Linked DNA regions of Homo sapiens: region 2 is linked to region 1. The links are contacts of gene promoters, found by promoter capture Hi-C in human tissues and cell types (Jung and others, 2019). All regions are on one chromosome and are shown on one strand. Each heading gives the region's core, a stretch centred on a gene start or on the middle of the fragment in contact. The rest is flanking DNA. Distances are from core to core; before and after follow the strand shown. Region 1 holds the start of CWF19L1 (CWF19 like cell cycle control factor 1). Region 2 overlaps DNMBP (dynamin binding protein).

The links. The method cuts DNA at HindIII sites, captures the fragments that hold promoters and counts their contacts. A contact is called where the count stands out against the background at its distance.
Region 2: a fragment that was not itself captured here is called in contact with the fragment with the promoter of CWF19L1 in region 1 in 2 of the 25 tissues and cell types used here (neural progenitor cells and thymus).

What each region holds. Positions count from the first base shown.
Region 1 is chr10:100,266,294-100,268,993 of GRCh38, forward strand. It overlaps CWF19L1 (CWF19 like cell cycle control factor 1), which reads right to left and starts at 1,345. Exons shown (of 14, transcript NM_018294.6): 1 at 1,278-1,345. The coding sequence starts at 1,300. The HindIII fragment of the contact is 27,589 bases long and covers 1-2,700 here.
Region 2 is chr10:99,911,147-99,914,023 of GRCh38, forward strand. All of the region lies in intron 4 of DNMBP (dynamin binding protein), which reads right to left. Among named protein-coding and RNA genes, the nearest start is that of DNMBP-AS1, 15 kb to the right of the region's middle. RefSeq lists enhancers at 2,130-2,752, 2,753-2,877. The HindIII fragment of the contact is 4,920 bases long and covers 1-2,877 here.

The sequences.
Region 1 (2,700 bases), core at 95-2,594:
TGGTCCACCTGCTTCAGCCTCCCAATTAGCTGGGACCACCACGCCCGGCTAATTTTTTTTTTTTTCTGTATTTTTTGTAGAAACGGGGCCTTGCTATATTGCCCAGGCTGGTCTTGAATTCCTGGACTCAAGTGATTCTCTTGCCTTGGCCTCCGGAGTCGCTGGGATTATAGGCGTGAGCCACTGCGCCTGGCCCTATCACTATGGTAACTTTACATTTATCTGAATTCCTTTTTTTTTAGACGGAGTCTCACTCTGTTACCTAGGCTGGAGTGCAGAGGTGCAGTGTCGGCTCACTGTGCAACCTCCGCCTCCGGGTTCAAGCGATTCTCCTGCCTCAGCCTCCCAAGTAGCTGGGATTACAGGCACGCGCCACCACGCCTGGCTAATTTTTTTTTTTTGTATTAGTAGAGACGGGGTGTCACCACGTTGGCCAGGCTGGTCTCGAACTCCTGACCGCAAGTGATCCGCCCGCCTCAGCCTCCCAAAGTGCTAGGATTACAGGCGTGAGCCACCGCGCCCGGCCATTATTTGTATTGTTTTTTGTTTGTTTTGTTTTGTTTTGTTTTGTTTTGAGAGTCTCGTTCTGTCGCCCAGGCTGGAGTGCAGTGGCGCGATCTCGGCTCACAGCAACCTCCGCCTCCCGGGTTCAAGCGATTCTCCTGCCTCAGCCACCGCGCCCGGCCCATTATCTGGATTCTTTAGTACCTGTTCCTCTAGACTCTACGCTCCATTAAAGCAGGAACTCCATCTGTTGCAACACCTAGCACAGCGTCCGGCACACTGCAGTTCTTCAATAAATACTTGCTGCATGAAGCCCTCTCTTCACCACCACCCCCACCCCTCCTCCTCGCAAAAAAAAAAAAAAAAAAAAAATGCCCCAGGGAAGGGTCCCTATCTACTCTGTCCACCACTGCCCAGGGCCCATCAGTGGGCCCAATGGCTATTTGGCGAGTAAATAAATGGGGTCAGGAGAAACGAAGGGGAAAGGATGTGTCAGAGGCCAGGACTGCCCCCTAAGATGGAGGAGGCCTAACTCTGGGAGCTTCCGCCTCTCCGAACGAGCGTCGCCAAGAGAAACCCCCTCAGAAGCGAAAAGGGCCAGGAAAAGAGGTCAGCCCCGGCCAGGCAAAGACATCACCTAAGCTCCCCAGCAGCCCCGTGTCTCTCCGCCTTTTCCTTCTCCCTTCCCGTCATGGGAAAGACTCCCGCCCGTGTCGTCACCTACACACACGAAAGAGACACAGGGAGAGAGGCTTCCATTCACGGTCACTCACAGGCGCAGCGGTTTCTGTGCCATCTGTCCGAATAGTATGGGTTGCGACTGCCACCTAAAATTGGGAATGCGAATCCGCGCTCCCCGGAAAAATGCGACCGCGCAACAATCAGACGTCAGCGCCCTCCAGCCAATAACGGTTCACTTACTTACGGAGACCGCCGAGGGACAGAAGCCTCTCTCAGGTGTTTGCGCCTCAAGGAAGAATCAAGAGGGAAAGGGAGGAACGAAGGGAGAAAGAGAAAGTGACCGAAAGGATTCCAACTATGATTTTTTAAATTAAATTTCAGAGCACTTGAAGCGAATGAATGGCTAGGAAGTACAGAGCACAATGTCGGGTTCTAACCTAACCTAACCTAACCTAACCTAACCTAACCATATCGGTCTAGTGGGCAAGACAGACCCCCTCTATCCACGTTTTTTGTAAGTTTTTAACCTATCAAAAAGTTAAGAGGCCGGGCGTGGACGCTCACGCCTATAATCCCAGCACTTTGGAAGGCTGAGGCGGGCGGATCACTTGAGGTCGGGCGTTCAAGACCAGCCTGGGCAACATGGTGAAACCCCGTCTCTTCTAAAAATACAAAAATTAGCCGGGCATGGTGGAGAATTGCTTCAACCAGGGAGGCGGGGGTTGCAGTGAGTCAAGATCGCGCCATTGCACTCCAGCCTGGACAACAAGAGCGAAACTCCGTCTCAAATTAAAAAAAAAAAAGTTAAAAGAATAATGGCTATTACCTTGATTCAGTAAGTCTCAGCATGTTGGCAAATTTGCTTGTGTTCTCTTTCTCTCAAAGTGCCCAAGCCCTTCCATTCTCACTCAATCATTTGAAAGTAAAGTACAGGCCGGGCGCAGTGGCTCACGCCTGTAATCCCAGCACTTTGGGAGATCCAGACCATCCTGGCTAACACGGTGAAACCCCCTCTCTACTAAAAATACAAAAAATTAGCCGGGCGTGGTGGCACGCACCTGCAGTCCCAGTTACTCGGGAGGCTGAGGCAGGGGAATCGCTTGAACCCAGGAGGAGGAAGTTGCAGTGAGCCGAGATCGCGCCACTTCACTCCAGCCTGGGCGACAGAGCGAGACTCCGTGTCAAAAAATAAAATAAAATAAAGTGCGGACAACAGGAATACATCTCCATTTATCTCCTAAGATTAGGATATCCTCCTACATAACCGTAATACTATTAACACAGCTAAGAAAATTAACATTAATTATTCAATAATATTACCTAATATACATCCATATTTAAAGTTCTCCATATTTCCCTACAAACTGATTTTATATTTGGGGCTTGTTTTGATTCAGATGCAATCAAGTTTCACACTTGCATTTGGTTCTGTCTCTATTTTAATCTACAAAAGCCCTCCTACCTATTTGGTTTTAGTTTTTGTAATATTGACTTTTTTGAAGGGTTCAGGCCAAG
Region 2 (2,877 bases), core at 154-2,653, 360 kb before region 1:
GGGAGGATGGCTTGAGCCTGGGTGGCAGAGGTTGCAGTAAGCTGAGATTATGCCACTGCACTCCAGCCTGAGTAAAAAAAAAATCTGGCCAGGTGCAGTGGCTCACGCCTGTCATCCCCGCACTTTGGGAGTCTGAGGCTGAGGCGGACAGATCACCTGAGGTCAGAAGTTCGAGACCAGCCTGACCAACATGGTGAAACCCCATCTCTACTAAAAATACAAAAATTTGTATTTTGCCTGTAATTCCAGCTATTCAGGAGGCTGAGGCAGAGGTTGCAGTGAGCCAAGATTGCACCACTGCACTCCAGCCTGGGAGAACAGAGCAAGACTCCATCTCAAAAAAAAATCCATGTTCATACAAAATACACACTGAAGCTTACTAAGGGGCACAATATATGCAATGTACTCTTAGTTCATTAAAGAAAAAAAAACTGCATGTGGAGAGTGGGGATTGACAGAGAATGAGATAAAAACAGCAAAATGTTAAATATGGGTGAATTTGTATAAAATGTATACAGGAGTTTTCATTGTACTATTGCAATTTTCTGTATATTTGGTATTATTCAAAATAAAACTTAAGACATAACAGAAAAAGCTCTTTCTCGAACTTTTTGGTAGAATGAATGGCAAAACTTGAAGCATAACCCTGATTTCATCAGTGTTCGATTATGATTCTAAATTCATTGTGTTACATATAAAATTTATTTCTAATAGGCTTGTTTTAAATTTTCTTTGTGATCTCAAAGCAACAGACTTTCAATCCCAAATATGGTCTCATTAGTGCCAAGTTGAGAATAGAAACTCATTTTAAATACAAGACTAAAAAGCTCTGGAGAGGGAGAACATTTACTGAATTCCTATCACATGCCAGGTACTTTACAGATTATATCCCTGAACTCATTTAATACTCACATCAGAATTTTTAAGTAGGTATTATTACTCCCATTTAATAGGTAAGAAAATCCAGGCTTGGAGAGGCTGACAAACTTGTCTGAGGTTATATAGTGAGTAAATGGCAGTTGTGGATTTAGAACCTAAATATATTTAAATCCAAATCCTGTGCACTTAATCCTGCACCATTTGGTTTCCCTGGCCTGGAATCTCAATGAGAAAAGGTCAGGGGCTTATTTGCTTCAAATCTTAAAAACTCCCTGGAAACCACTGTGTACTCTCCTGAGAATCAAAATTCTACTAATTATAGTAGTTGAAAACACAAAGTACCAGCAAGCACTTACTCATCAATCAGAAGCCAGCCAGCCTATGTATTAGATTTTTATTTCTTTAAAATGGAGAAAAACAATAACAATTCTTTTAAACTACCAGCGTGCCTTCCCCTGTGCCCCCACCCCCCGAAAATGGGGTTTATAAACTCTTGAGCAGCCTTTAAAAACCCAAACACTTTGGTGTGATTAAAAACCCCTGTGGGATGTTTTCACTATATTGCAGTTTCCTGGACACCATCCCTGGGATTCAGATTCAGCAAACCTGGGTGGGACCGGGGTATCCGCAATTTTAATAAAACCCTAGGTGTTTCCTTCCCTCCTCTTTCTCTTCCTCTCTCTTTAAAGGAGGGGGTTGTTACCCAGACTAGTTTCAAACTCCTGGGGCTCTCAAGCGATCCTCCCACCTCAGCCTCCCAAGTAGCTGGGACTATAGGCATGTGTCACTGCTCCTGGCAACCCAAGGTATTTCTGAAGACACAGGTGACCTTCAGGTGCCACAAACATTTATTAACACTCAAAGAGAGTTTTCAAAGATTAAGTCAAATTTTAAAGTCTGGCTTGAAATGACTGTAAGTATAAAAACTTTTTCCTTTATGCCACATATATTCTAATAAAAATATCTGCTCTAAAATTTTAGTATCTGGGCCATGCGTGGTGGCTCATGCCTGTAATCCTAGCGCTTTGGGAGTCTGAGGTGGGAAGACTGCTGGAGCCCAGGAGTTCAAGACCAGCCTGGGCAATATAGTGAGACACCCGTCTCTAAAAAAATTAAATTTTTAGTATCCCGGACAACAAAGCGGGAGAAGGCGGCCTTCACCCCCAGCCAGCTGTGGTGGAAAAAGAAGCTTTGAATCTTGCACTTCCCCACTATGTAGCTGGGGAGCCTTGGAAATGTCCACTTTTATCTCTTGGCCTCAATTTCCCAATCTATAAAATGAGGATAATAATACTTGCTTTGCAGAGTAGTTGAGGGAGTTAAACAAGGTAATAACCCAACAAACATAAGTCCTTTTCCCACAATGGGCCCGAATATGCCATCTGCACCTGATAGATGGTAAATACACTTGGTAAAATGTACCAAGCAGAAAAGTGCCCTGTGCAGACTCTAAAATTCCACTTTTCTATGAGAACAATAAAATGTGCAGACGAGCTCTTACTTTCTTCCTAGGATAGCCCGGCAGGTGTTAAAGGAGCTGGGACTGTTGCACAAATTTACTTCCTGTGATAAAACAATTAGTTGTGGGGTTCCTTCAGTGATTGTGGCTTACCCCCCACCCCAAGTCCTGATTCCATTCCTTCTCAAGACACCCCCAGCCCTTTCCGGTTAGTACATTATCACCAGGCTCACTTCCTAAAGTTCGAAGGAAGGGAGTCATTAGCCCACGGCTTCCCACAACTCCATCACACACACTTCAGAGTTAAAGAGCAGAGCCATGCGCCCTTCCCTTGCCTCAGAAAGCTGGATCTATCTCTAATGGGGAAAATTTTGAGCTCCCGGCCAGATCCCAGGTGCCCTTGAACAGGGACGAAGAGGCTGCCTGTTCCACTTCCTTCTGTGCTGGCTCCCACACCCCAGGACCTACCTGCAGTGCCCAGAGCTGGCTGTGTGTGGAGGTGTGGGCCTGAGGGTAAGCAGGCGGGACAGAATCTTCCC